2 separate regions of the Homo sapiens genome follow, and region 2 is linked to region 1. Evidence: promoter capture Hi-C in human tissues and cell types (Jung and others, 2019). All regions are on one chromosome and are shown on one strand. The core of a region is centred on a gene start or on the middle of the fragment in contact, and the rest is flanking DNA. Distances in the headings are between cores, read along the strand shown.

What was found. Contacts are between HindIII fragments. The study calls those that stand out against the background at their distance.
Region 2: a fragment that was not itself captured here is called in contact with the fragment with the promoter of AGAP1 in region 1 in 3 of the 25 tissues and cell types used here (dorsolateral prefrontal cortex, heart right ventricle and mesenchymal stem cells).

Annotation. Positions count from the first base shown.
Region 1 is chr2:235,490,370-235,497,657 of GRCh38, forward strand. AGAP1 (ArfGAP with GTPase domain, ankyrin repeat and PH domain 1) reads left to right here and starts at 3,674. Exons shown (of 18, transcript NM_001037131.3): 1 at 3,674-4,480. The coding sequence starts at 4,318. RefSeq lists an enhancer at 4,928-5,801. The HindIII fragment of the contact is 11,360 bases long and covers 1-7,288 here.
Region 2 is chr2:235,114,619-235,121,906 of GRCh38, forward strand. No RefSeq gene overlaps it. Among named protein-coding and RNA genes, the nearest start is that of SH3BP4, 170 kb to the left of the region's middle. The HindIII fragment of the contact is 4,047 bases long and covers 540-4,586 here.

The DNA of each region.
Region 1 (7,288 bases), core at 2,424-4,923:
TCTTAGGGGACCATTATTCTTTCTACTGTGGCAAGGAAGGGGGACATGAAGTGTTGGGGAACAGGGATGCCATTTTAGAGAAGATGTTAGGGAAAGTCGCATTGAGAAGGTGGCTTTGGAGCAAATACATAAGGAAACAAAAGTCCTGGTGAAGGGGTCAGGGAGACAGAGAAGCAGATGACAAGGGTGGGGGTGTGATGGGTATATTTAGGGGGCAACAAGGAGGCCAGTGTGGCCGAAGAGGAGAGAACAGGCTAGAAGTAGAGATGCTGTGGCGAGAGAGACAGTCATAGGCTGAATTATGTCCCCAAAATTCATATATTAAAGTCCTAACTCCCAGTACCCCAGAATATGACTATATTCAGAAATTGGACCTTGAAAGAGATGACTAAGCTAAGACGATGTCATTAGGAAGGGGTCTAATCCAATATGAATGGAGTTCTTCTAAGAAGGGGAGATGGGGACACAGACACACAGAGGAAAGACCCTGTGAGAACACAGTGAGAAGGCAGCATCCACAAGCCAAGGGGAAACCAACCCTGCAACAGCTTGATCTTGGCTCTTTGAGCCTCCTGCATTTTGAGAAAATGGATTTCTGTTAAAGCCATGCAGCCTGTGGAAGTTTTTTTTGTGTGTTTGTTTTGTTTTGTTTTTTTGAGAAGGAGTCTCCCTCTGTCACCCAGGCTGGAGTGCAGTGGCACGATCTTGGCTCACTGCAAGCTCCACCTCCACCTCTCGGGTTCACGCCATTCTCCTGCCTCAGCCTACCGAGTAGCTGGGACTACAGGCACCCGCCACTGCACCCGGCTGATTTTTTTGTATTTTTAGTAGAGACGGGGTTTCACCATGTTAGCCAGGATGATCTCGATCTCCTGACCTCGTGATCCGCCTGCCTCGGCCTCCCGAAGTGCTGGGATTACAGGCGTAAGACACCACGCCCGGCCTTTTTTTTTTTGAGATGGTCTTGCTCTGTCCTCCAGGCTAGAGTGCCGTGGTATGATCACAGCTTACTGCAACCTTGACCTCCTGGGCTCAAGCCATCCTCCCTGCACAGCCTCCGGAGTAGCTGGGACTAGAGGCTCACACCACTGTGCCTGGCTAATTGTTGTATTTTTTGTAGAGATGGGGTTTCACCATGTTGCCCAGGCTGGTCTCGAACTCCTGGGCTCAAGCAATCCTCCCAAAGTGTTGGATTATAGGCATGAGGCATCATGCCAGGCCTGTGGAAGGTTTTTATGGCAGCCCTTGCTGGGTAACACAGGTACACAGGTAGAGACACCAGGCGCCTTTGCTCTGGACTATATTCTCAAGGATGTTTGCAGAGCAAACAGCCTTGGAAGACAGAGATAATGTTTTCTGCCACAGTCAAGGGTAGACATGCTTACTGTCCATGATAAAAACAGTGTCTCCCTCTGGAGTGAAGGGCAGACACACTTACTGCCCGTATGAAAGATCTGAGCTCTCTAAGCTAAGGGTTAAAAACTTATAAAACTCGTATAGGGCAGCTGACTCCAAGTACAGGCTTCACCTGGGCCTCATGTTGCCCGTGGGAATTGGGTCTCAGTAAACTGGTGCATGAAAATGCTGATATTCCAGCTAATGCTACTATTATGAATAACAAAGTCCTTTGTTTCTGATCTGGGAGTCTCATGTCTTCTGCCAGCATCCATGAATTGTGGCAGGCTAACTTGTTAGCTTACAAGTAGGGGAATAGCTCAGCCCCTGAGCAGCTCTTGATAAGAGCTCATGCCTGTGGGGCGAGGCCAGATGGGAGTCATTGGAGGGTTTTGAGAAAAGGCATGACAAGTCCGGACGTAGGTTTTGTAAGTTTCACCAGGTAGGAAGCAGTGAGCTATTACAATTGTTAGATCTAGTGATGGTCCAGCTAGATGATCCTGACTTCAGCCGAGTGGTGAGAAGTCGTGGGATTCTGGATCCTCTGAAGGTGGAGCTGACACCATTTGGGATATGAGAGAATGATAAGCAAAAAGGACAGCACTGAATTTTTCGCCTAAGCAAATGGTGGCCTGGAGTTGCCGATGACTGGGATGGAGAAGATTTTTAGGAGATGTAGCCGGAAGGGATGGCAGGAGTTCAGCTGGCGACATGCTGGACTTAAACACCAGCTAGGCTTCAGGAAATGTTGAGGATGCAGGTGGATGTGAATTTGTTATTCAGGGGTGAGGTCACAGCTGGAGATACATATGAGCTTCATTAACCTGTGTATGATATTCAAAGCCATAAGACAGGGGCGATCACAGCAAATAGCAAAGAAAAGAGGCCTAACCATAAGCCCTGGGGCCCTCCATATTTAGAGGTTAGGGGAGTAGAAGAAAACCACAAAAGGGACAGTGAAGCCAGAAACACAGCAGGAAGCCCTGGTGAGCACTGGGAGAAGGGGTTTCCAGGAGCGCAAGTGATCAGCTGCTGCTGATAGGTCAGGTTTGGTGAGGCCACATGCCTGCCTCTTGGTTACTAGAGTTACTTATGCGTGGACAGCCCGAGGCATGGAGTGATGACCTGTGCCTAAGTGTCAAGGAGAAGACAAGCAGGTCCGGAATGGTAAAAATGTCAGCACATCTTTGGGAAGTTGTGGAGCCCAGCCAGTAAGCCAACACGGCTGGATACCAGGGTGCTTAGGCCATAGCAAACTGCATGTGAGCCGGTGAAGGCTCAGCAGGCTTTAAACGGGGATGCCGGCCCGGCTGGCTGAGTTTCAGAAAGACCACGCCGATGGCTGGGGGCAGGGACTCAGCCAGTGTCCTCAATCCAGGACCTTGTGGGACCGCCCGGCAGCCAGTGCTTCCGCAAATCTGAAGGGTCCCATTTGCCTCAAAGCGGCGAGACGAGCCTTCCAAGCGCTGCTGCAGTGCGGTCCCAGCTCCGCGGGGGGTCCCCGGGGATGACCTAAATCGGGGATTGCGGTGGGACAGACGGTCCAGGGGCTAAGGAACCCCGTGGAGCAGGCAGCGGCGCTCAGGAGGCAGCAGCTTGAGATCCACGGCTCGATTTTTAAAAATTGTAAGGGAGAAGGATGCCTCGAAAGCCTCTGTGGTATTTTGTCGCATCTCGCACCCCTGTCTAAACTTCAGTCCACTCGTGGAGTGTGGACCCCCACGCCGCATGGGCTCAGGAGGCGCTTCGCCTTTGGAAAGAAATCGCATGTATTAAGGGAAAGCACGTGTGCTACTTTGAGAAAGGAGGCAGAAAGTTACCAAACGCGGGAAGGGGAGGCTCGCCAACCAAGCGAGGCCGTGGGACACTGGCGAGTCGCAGAGGCTCCTGGAGCCAGCCGCTTGGAAACAAACAACAACGCGGCGGGCGAACTCCCGGGCAGCCTCCCCCGTGCCGGGGCGCGGGGGCCGCCGCGAGAACCCGGGCAGGAGCTGGCAGGCGCGGGGCCTGGCCGGCGGGAGGGTCCCGCACCCCGGCCCAGTGTGAACACCCCGCGCACCCCCCTGGCCCGGCCCGCCGGGGGCGCGGACTACAAGTCCCAGGAAGCCCAGAGGCAGGCGCGGGGCGGGGCCTGGCGCAATTCCCCGGGATCCGGCGCGCTGGGAAGCGCCGAGGAGGACGCAGCGCCGGCGGCCGGAGGGCGGCAAGCGCGCGGGCAGGCGGGGCGCGGGCGCGGGCGCGGGCGAGGGCGAAGGCGGGGGCGGGGCCGACGTGGGCCGGAGCCCTGCGTGCCAGGGAGGGGGCCGGCCGGGCAGGCGGCGGGCGGCGCTCGGAGCGGGCTCCGCGGCTTGCAAGGCGCCTGCGACTCGGTCCCAGGTCGGCGGGCGGCGCACGGCGGGCTCGCGCGGGGGCCCCGGCGCGCCGGGCGGCGCAGTACGCAGCGCGCGGACCCACGCCACGGCCAGGAGCCCAGAGCAGCGCGGCCACACTGCCCAGGGGTCGGCCCTCGGCCCCGGCGCTCGGAGCGCGGCGGCTGCCTGGGCTTTAATGGCTGCTCCGCGGAGCAGCGCCTAGGGCTGGAAGGCGGCTGCGGCTCAGGAAGTCACCCGAGCAAGCCTCCTTCGGGGCCGGCCGCACCCGCCGCGGCGCGCTCCATGGGGGCGCGCTCCCCCCGGGCGGCCCGCTGACCCGGGACGCCGGGGCCCGCTCGCTCGCCGGCCGCGCGTCCCGGCCATGAACTGAGCCCGCGGGCCAGCCCCGCGCCTGCTCCGCCCGCGCCTTTCTTCTCGCGCCTCCTCCGCCCGCCGCCGGCGGGCCCGGCTCCCCGGGGGCTGCGGCGCCCCGGGCTCGGCGGCCCGCGGGCCCCGGGGCGCGGGGCGGCGGCGGCGGGGGGCGCGCGGCTCCGGGCGCGGCGCCTGCACCATGAACTACCAGCAGCAGCTGGCCAACTCGGCTGCCATCCGGGCCGAGATCCAGCGCTTCGAGTCGGTCCACCCCAACATCTACTCCATCTACGAGCTGCTGGAGCGCGTGGAGGAGCCGGTGCTGCAGAACCAGATCCGGGAGCACGTCATCGCCATCGAAGGTGAGGGCCGGGCCGCCTTGGGGCCTCGGGAAGGCACGGACGCCCGCGGCGCGGCGGGGGTGTGCGCTGTGTGCGTGCGGGTGTCCACACACGCCGGCCGGGGCACGCGGCTGCTCCGCCGAGGGAGCACTGCGGCGCTGCTTGTCTTGCAAGGCCGGGCGAGCGTCGCCTGCGCCCCGCCGCGCCGCGAGCTCCGCCAGGAAGATAGATCGTCAGCGTTAATTTGATCGTGGACAATAGAGTCTCTCCTGCGGGAAAGTGGCTCGGTGCCTCCGCGTCCTGGGCTGCCGGAGCGTCCCGGCCCAGCAGACGCCTGGGGGCAGCCGGCGGGGTCGGCGCCACCCGACCCCTGACAGGTTACCAGGCCAGGCCTGGGCGTCTTGCTGGACGTTGAAGACGTGTTCTGAGAAGTGCTGCCGCTGGGGGCGAGGCCCGGGCCGGCGTGTTTGGGCGGTGCAGGGCTGCCCTCCTTAGTGTGTTTGCTTAATTCAGGGGTGCAGTTGAACTTAGTGGATGCCGAGAGCCAGCCCTAGCCGCGGGAGCATCGTGTCCAGGTGCCCCTGTGCAAACGCTGGAACCGGTAGTGTGCTTTGTACCAACCAAAAGTCCGGGGTTGGATTAGAGGAAGAACCCTACCAGGAGGGCAGGGCGTCCTCCAGCGGAAGGGTCTCGCTTTCATATGTCTGCAGTTGGAGGCCACTGAAGTGGAGGGTGCTGTGGTTTTAAGAGGGGCAGGATGCTTGGGCAGAATCCCCACCCGCTTCCCTCTGCATGTCAGGCAGGGCCATGGCCTTCCAGGAGAGCTACAGCAGCAGTCTGCCTTCCGGGGCTGTGCCCTCTGGATTTCTGGTGGCTCTCATTTCTCTGTTTCCAGGCTGCTGATTTATTTTCTTGCTTCATCCCTTTGGTCCGGCCAAGACTCACCTGGGGCACCAGGTGGCATGTGCGTGGACAGTGTGGAGTCATATCTTAGCCACAGTTGATCAGCACTTTCTCCCTTCTCAGCGCTGTTGGCCAGTGATGGTAAAAAGCCTGCAGAGTGGCTTGTCCATAATACAGACTGGCCGGTAAGACCTCTATTGAGGAACATTGAGAATGGCCCAAAGCCGGCAGGAATGTGCCTGAAAGCCTGGTGCTGGCGTTGCCCAGCCTCCTCCCTCTGTGAGGGAGAGGGTATCAGCCCACAGAGAGGCTTTGCCTTGGCACTATGTAGTCTGAACTACTAACCCCGAAGTGCTTTGGTTTGAAACTTGGCCAGTTAGGTGGAGAAAGTGGATGTTGTGTTGCTGAGCCCTTGGCATTTGGCAGCCCTGTAGACTTGAACCATGTCCCAGCCAGGCTGGATGACTGGCAGACTATACCCTTGGGGGACTTGTTAATTCCAGGGGAGGATCCGGGTGGAGCTCCAGCCTTATGGGGTCCTAGCCCTTTGTGTGTATCTGTCTCCCATGAGGTCACCTGGCTGCCTTGTTGGTGACTTAAGATGCTCTGTGGATTCCTCAAGAGATGGGCTCTGTCTGCCTCTGCATGACTCGTGATGAGTGGCGGTGGGACCTGGACCCATCTGCTGATGATCAGGTGGTGTTGCAGCAAGGTTCCTCCAGAGCTCCAGCTCTGCGTCTGTTACGGGAGCTGTGAAGGCTGCACGGTGCTCATTTCAGATGGTTCTTCCTGGCTCTCTGGCTGCATCCACAGAAGTCTGATGAAACACTGTGAAAGCCGGCGTCAGGTATTGAAGGCACCTGGCTGAGAGCCTCTTTTGCTGCATGAAGACCTCTGGCTGAGTGGGGTTCACAACACCTCGTTTTTATTTCCCATTCTTGAAGCTGAGCTCTGGGGCTCAAGCACTTCCAGCAAAGCAGTTTGACTTTCTAGCAAGAGGATGTGGTTGCATTTTCCTTTCTCCCTTAAAAGAAAAAAAAAATGCGTCGTTCCTAGATGATGGTTTTTTTTGACAGCACGATGCCTACCTTTGCGATTTGAGATTTTAGGCCCCTTCTTGGCCGGGATCCTTGTCATTTTTAATAAGGCTTAGAATCATTGGGTGAATCCTGTTTGGGACTGGGGTGATGCTGTTATTTTTCTCTTAGAAATAGGGATGTCTACATTATGTGGAGCTGTAGTTAATTTAGTGAGGCTTAAGAACCACTCAGACATGCTGCTGTTCTTTGCATGTTCTTCTGTTATCAATAATGATACCACTTTTCATTTCTGTAGAACTTTAACAGAAATATTTTTGCATGTATAGTCTCATTGTGTGGCTTCACCAACCCTGTGAGGGTGGGTGGGTAGCTTCCTCATCCTCATTTTATGGAGGAGCGGGTGGAGGTTCAGGGAGGGATAATGACCTCCTTAACATTTGACTGAGGTGGTTTGAAGTCTGATCTGAACCAAGGGATCATTTGAATGGAGTTTCTGTCTCCACACTGCATGTGGATGGCAGGAACCCAGTGCTGGCAACTAAGCCTGCGCTGGAACATCACAGTAACTGCAGAGGGCTCCCTGCAGGGGCAGAGAGCTGCCCCTGCCTGTGCGTGCACCTTGGAGGTTTTAAAGTCTAACTGTTTCCAATCAGGACAGCAGGTGCACATCATAACAAATGGCTCAAAAAGTCACTTGTCCCACCAAATAGAAAGCTGGCCACATTTTAGAAGATTTCCAGCTAGGGATTTTTTCCCCTTCCTCTGTATGTGCATACACAGAATTGGGGTCTGACTTCCCAAGCTTCTGGACTACCGTGATGTGGGCACTTCTTTTTTTGTTTTGAGACGGAGTCTCGCTCTGTCGCCCAGGCTGGAGTGCAGCGGC
Region 2 (7,288 bases), core at 1,313-3,812, 380 kb before region 1:
GCATCTGAACTTCTGTGAGCAACCATTGTCGTGCAATTTTAACATCGTTATTATCTCCTATGGGAACGTCATCTAAGCCATCGAGAAGTGGTGGTACCGTTGCTGTGTGACAATCTGTGTCCTTAAATCAGAAGTCAGTGGTGACAGGCCGGGCACGGTGGCTCAGACCTATAATCCCAGCACTTTGGGAGGCCGAGGCAGGCAGATCACCTGAGGTCAAGAGTTCGACACCAGCCTGGCCAACACGGTGAAACCCCATCTCTACTAAAAATACAAAAGTTAGTCAGGCATGGTGGCGGGCGCCTATAATCCCAGCTACTTGGGAGGCCGAGGCAGGAGAATCGCTTGAACCTGGGAGGCAGAGATTGTGGTGGGCCAAGATTGTGCCATTGCACTCCAGCCTGGGTGACAAGAGTGAAACTCCATCTCAAAAAACAAACAAAAAACCAAAAAAACACAAAAAAGTCAATGGTGAGGAGGCCAAAGAAGCACTATTATACTACTTGCTATTTTAGAAGAGGCCACTGAAAAACATTAAGAATGATGCGGAGGAAAAAAATCAAAGTAGTATGGAGGTAGTTGAAGCCTTATGTTAAAATATTATATAACAAAGCAAGGGTAATAAAAAATAAAAGTGTTGGCTACATGGTGAAGACACCCTTTCCTGAGTCAGATCTGAGATCTCACTGGTTATGGAGAATCTGCTCACGGTTGTAGAGGAAAGAAACCTAAAAGAAAGTAGAAAGGCTAAGCTGACTTAGAACGCAGAAAAAGCAAAGCAGAGAAGAAACAGAAAAAGCAAATGGGTAGGCTTCAGAAAAGTTTAGGGGCTTGTAGAGAGGGAGAAAAAAGAAAAGAAGAAAAGGAATTTTAAAAGGATTACTGTCGTGTGTGAAATATATGTCATTTAACTTTCTTAGAGACATGACTGTGATTGGCATTACAGTTACTTCGCATGCTTTGGATGACACCATGGTGAGAATGGGCCACGTGGACCATTGAGATATATTTGGATTTCACATGGCAGAGAAAATCAGCTGAATGATAATTAATGACGCATCTGTTTTTGAAAGTCTATTGTTTTATATTGAGCTATGTAAATTTGATATAGGAAAGATTCATGAAATCTCACTCCAAATGACATGGATTCTCTCCAAACTAAGAAAAAAAATCACCAAGAATAGCATACTGTAATTTCAAAGCTTGCAAGCGGCTTTGAAATTTTAAAATATTCATATAATTTTTTAAAGGATGGGTAGGAATTTCTGTACACAGTGGAACTATTCCTGCCATATGACAATAGCATAAAGACAAGCTAGAATGGACTCTGCTTGCAAGCTTTGAAATTACAGTATGCAATTCTCAGTGATTCTTCTTCCTAGTTTGGAGAAGATCCATCTCATTTGGAGTGAGATTTTATTAATCTTTCCTATATCACACTATTTTTAATTTACATAACTCAAACAAAGAAGGGTACCGTGTGGGTGGCATTTCGTTTGCAGCATAGAGGAGGTGGTGGAAGTGAGTCCTTCTGTGACTTGACCAGAGATGTGAGCATGAGAAAGTATTGGCTGAGCCTGGTTCTCTGGTCTGAGACTCAGGGACATTCAGCTCAGTCCCCTTCCACCCGCACACCCCCACCTGATGCTGCTGTCATCGTGCCTCATCTGGCCACATCTCTCATCTTTGGCTCTGCACTCAAGGTCATCCATAATGCGAAGCCACCTCTCCAGCCATGCCTTAGCTCCCACTTTTCCTGAAAGTGAAGCTCTGCCTCTCTCACCCCGTGGTCCTTCCCGATGCTCCCATCCTGCAGGCCAAGCCATCCTCTCCCCCACGACTTGCCCCTGCTCCTCTGCTTCCAGCCCCTGCAGTTTTTGTGTTCACTGCAGACTCTGGGGCCTCCAAGAGTTTGTTTCAAACACCTTCTTTTTTTTCCTTTCATTCCTTGGATCTGCTTACCACGATCTCAGCCTTTAATTGTTGGTGCCTCCTGGGCAGCAGCCCTTAGTTGTGTGTTGTTTATATCCTTCCCTCATCGACCAGTGCTTGATACATTCTAAATTATTTCAAATTAATTTGTAAAACCCACAATTATTATCATTTCACTCATATTCCAGGTCAATTTTGACAAAGGTTTCATAGATTTTCATTGAAAATGACATATATCTTAGGAAGAGTTAATACAAAGGTGAAGTTTATGTCAATATATATTTTATTTTTTTCAAAATTATAGTATGAAGTTTTTTCTGGAGAAGGACAAATTTTATTGAATTCCTACACAGGAGTTTCTCTTCTCCTTATCAAATGGTACAGGAATTAAGCATGAAAGGTTAATTCACACAGTCTTAGAACTCTCTCTTCCCTACCTTCTTTCTGCAAAACCAGAAAAAAAAAGCCTGTTTTCAGTCAATAGCTATTTTATTACTCTGTTTGTTAAATAATTTAACTTTATTTGCAATACTATACCTCCCCCTGGTGGAAATAAACAGGCTGTAACAATTACAATCTTTCTTTTTCTGAATCCATTGCAGCGGATTGTGAAAAGACGAGGAAGGAAACAGTAGCTTGTTTATTTCCAGTCCGTTCATCCCAAACTAGTAATTCCATCTCCATTGGTTCTGTATCTGAAATTTCTTTTTATTCTTTATTTTCCTCCCTAACTTATGATGTTGTATATGGTCTTGCAACTTAAATTCTTTTGTAATGTTATTCAAATGAAAATTCATAGATTTTCCAAAGTACTTTATTTCCTAAGCTTTCATGTATTAATTAATAATGCTTTTACCTTTATGGGCCAATTTTAGACATATAGCCCATCAGTCTGAGCTGATAAGCATAATTGAATAGTGCCTTTGCCTGAAGTAATTTCAGAGAAAGCTAAGAAGCCTGCTGCTTTAGAAATATTTGGGGTGTTTTTATTAAGAAAATAAGCAAAAAAGCCTAGTGGAATACTATCTTTTAAACCTTTATACTTGTAGAGAACAAATCATTTTGTTTAATTGATTTGTTCTAGAGGTGACAAAACTGAGGACCTTACCTGAGATGACAAAGATAGTTAAGTGGTGGGACTGTGATCAAAATGTATTAATGGATTGAAAGTCAGGAAGCTGTCTCCTCGCTTGAAACTTAGTGGGCAACCACTAACGACTAAGGAATAGATTGAATGCCTGGGGATCAGTTTTACATGGGGAAGTGAATCACAGTTTCCTAGAGTAAATGGAATAACAAAAAAGAAATATCAAGGTGACTGAAAAAAAAAGCATAAAATCTGACACGTAATAAGTGCTATTTATTAAAAGGCAAAGGCTTCCATCTTCTATTAGAATACAAAACCACAATAGACTGCTGATTAAAAGAGAAGTTACAATTAAATAACATTAAAAGTTTATTCTATATGGAAAGCATGACAGGCAACGGTGAACAAAACAGATAAATGTTTGGATGGTTTGGCAAAGACGATAAGAAACAAAGTGGTAAGGTGGTAACTCTCCCTGCTATTATGGTCTCTGGAGTTTCTCCACTCCTATTTTTTCCAGGCTACCAAACTACTAGCGAGAGAAAGAAATTTTATGACAGCAATGGCTAGAAAAAATACTTGAGACAAAATTGGACATTTAAATTTATAGAAAGTGCCATCTACAGCTTTAAAAATACATAAAGCAAAAACTGAAATACAAGGAGTAATTAACAGAAGCATGAAAGCAGTAGAAGTATGTGTATATACAAATACACACGCACATACTCACAACGCCAACATTCTATATTCCAATCAGGCATGTAAAAAGTGAGGCCATAAAAGCTTTGTAAAATATCTCTAATTGAGACAAATCAAGTGTCTGCTTTCAGACATAATGGAGTGACTTAAATTGGACTAACTTTCATGCCAAGAAAAAATCCTATAAAAGCTGAATAAAATGTACAAAATGACTGTGTGAAGCAGTGGGCAGCAACTAATGTAGACAGTACTGAAAGGCACAATTGTGAGAGTGAGAGAAGGGAAGCACACAAGATAATTTCTTTTTTTTCTTTTCTGGTATTCTTTTTTTTTCTCTCTTTTTTTTATTATACTTTAAGTTCTAGGGTACATGTGCACAACGTGCAGGTTTGTTACATATGTATACATGTGCCATGTTGGTGTGCTGCACCCATTAACTTGTCATTTACATTAGGTATATCTCCTAATGCTATCCCTCCCCCCTCCCCCCACTCCACAACAGGCCCCGGTGTGTGATGTTCCCCTTCCTGTGTCCATGTGTTCTCATTGTTCAATTCCCACCTATGAGTGAGAACATGCGATGTTTGGTTTTTTGTCCTTGCAATAGTTTGCTGATAATGATAGTTTCCAGCTTCATCCATGTCCCTACAAAGGACATGAACTCATCATTTTTTATGGCTGCATAGTATTCCATGGTGTGTATGTGCCACACTTTCTTAATCCAGTCTATCATTGTTGGACATTTGGGTTGGTTCCAGGTCTTTGCTATTGCGAATAGTGCTCACACAAGATAATGTCTACATTAACCCTGGTTGTTTTCCCTGTGGGAATTTTTTTAAATCGTTGCATGAGGAATAGAGACCACCTCTAACAAAGCTGAAAATCAAGCCTCCATGGGACCCAAGGTGATTCACTGATAGAGAACTGCCTGACAGGAAGAAAAAAACTTTCTTTGAAGAAAAACATCATTATCGGAGCCTCTACAATTTTTATCTACAATGAGCAAAATAAAATATAAAAATTAAAGGTTATGGTAAAAAAGACAGGACCAAGAGAAACAAACGTTAAGAAAAATGTAAACATTATATATAGTCTCACAGGTGATTTAGATATTGGAGTTATCAAAGAGAAATTTTAAAAATTGATTAGCCATTCAAGAAAATAAAGGATGGCATGGAAAAACAAGAGAAAATATAGAGAATTTCAACATAATTGAATATATATGAACAAAGCAACTGGGCGGTCTAGAACTGAAAAATACAATATTTGAAATGAAGAATTCATTAGATGAATTTAACAGTACACTGGACATAACAGAAGATGGGGAGGAATAGAATTTATTCAAACTGAAGCAAAGAGAGAAAAATAATGGAATGAACAGTACAGAATATTGTGTACATATACAGAATATTGTGTCCCCAAAGGAGAAGAGGGAAAAGAGCATAAATAATATTTGAAGACAGAATGGCTAAGTATATGTTTTAAAATATAATGAAAGACAACAACCCACAGGTTCAAGAGTCTATGCAAACCCCAAGATAACTAGAATAGGCACATCTTAGTCAAGCTGCTGAAAACCAAAGACAAAATGAAAATCTTAAAAGCAGGCGGGAATAGTGGGAATACTTTACTTTCAAAGGATCAAGAATAAAGCTTACAGCTGACTGTACAACATACTCATGGGAGCAAGTGGAATGACATCTTTAAAGGGCTAGGTATCAGCCAAACTAAAATTTTATAAACATTGAAAATATTAATGAAAATAAAGCAAAATAAGGAATTTTTGACAAATGAAAGCTGAGAAAATTTGTATCCAGTAGACTTGCACTAAAAGAAATACTAAAGATGGAGAATATCTTCATGACTTTGATGTAAGAACCGATTTCTGAAATAGATTTTTAAAAAGACACTAAACCTAATGAACATAATTGATAAATTAAACATAAATTGATGATTGACATTAAGCATTTCTGTTTACCAAAATAGACCTTTAAAAGAATAAAAATGCAATACCAACAAATATAAATGTTTATATTTGTGAACCATGTACTTGACCAAAGGCTTATATTCAAGATCAATGAAAAGGAAAATGTGTAAAAAATTTGATCAGGAACTTTCCAAAAGAATCTAAGAAGAACTTCGACTTCATTAGCTACCAGAGAAATACAAATTTAAAACACAGTAAGAGACTACCATTTTATTAGCTAAATTCTTAAATACATTCTAGATGAGCTGAAATTAAAAGACTGACTTCATTAAGTGTTGATGAGGATGTGGAGTAATTCATGTGCACTATTAGTGGCAGTGTAAGTAAATTGATATAAGCACTTTGGAAATCTATTTAGTATTATTTATTAAAATTGAATATACACATATTTTATGGCCCATGCACAAATATACCAAAATATATGCGCAAAAGCATTCATAGCAACATTAAATGTAAAGCTAAAAATGCAAAACAATGCAAATATCCTTGAATAGTAGAATGAATATATAAATTATGGTATTGTCATACAGTGAAACACAATTATTCTCTTAATAAATTTAATCAAGTAGATAAAAGGAACAAATGAAATAAGAGATTTCGGAGGGGGGGCCAGATCCATTCTTGATAAAAACAAAGATTTTGTAAGCTAAGAACATACAGATACTTTTCTGTTTTACTTTTCTTTTTGGCACTTCAGTTGCAGAGATTTAAATTAGTTATTCTCTTCAGTTCAAGGTACAACATCACCATGATTTGTACAAGACTCCCTCTTGGCTTTTAATACATTCATTTTTTTCCCGCCTCCACATTCTCCAATTCTCTCCTCCTTAGTTCTTTCTTCAGATGGAGCTGCCCTAGAGGGTTTGATATGTGTCTTTGGAAAATAAGTTTGTGAATGTGTGTGTGTTGGCAGGGGGCGGGGTGGGGAGTGGTGGTGAAGTTAATTCACATAAAGTGTAAACGACATAGTTCCTTGCTTTACATTAAATGGTTCCTTATCTTTTCATTATATCTCTTAAGATCTCCCTATGTTACTGTTGCAATATCTGGTGTATTGTCACAAAGCCTGGCAGCTATTTCTTCACCTGCCTCAACTTCATTTTCTTATCTATTCCCCTAGCGATGAACACCTAGGTTGCCTCCAACTATCCCCAAATTACTGCGAAGGACATCCTTCTACTTGTCTCCACACGGACCTGTGTGAGAATCACTTTGGGATACGTATTTGCCAGTGTGATTGTGAAGTAACAGTGTGTGTGTGTGTGTGTGTGTGTGCGCGCGCGCGCGTGCAATTTCGCAAATCCTGGAAGATTGCTCTTCAGAATGGCTGCAACAATCTCTTTTATGAGGAGTCCTCCCATGCTTCTCTTTTTTCTGGCAAATATAGATATTATTCTACTTTGTCATAGTGATGAGATTAAAGTGATATCTTAATTTCCCTGGGTAGTACAATCTTGAACATCATTTTCATATTCTTGCTAGCTATTAGCATTTCCTCTCTATGTATTATTTGTTCATATTTGCCTGTTTTTCTATAGGGCTTCTGGTCTTCTTGTTTATTTACAGAAGAAACAAGATTGTAA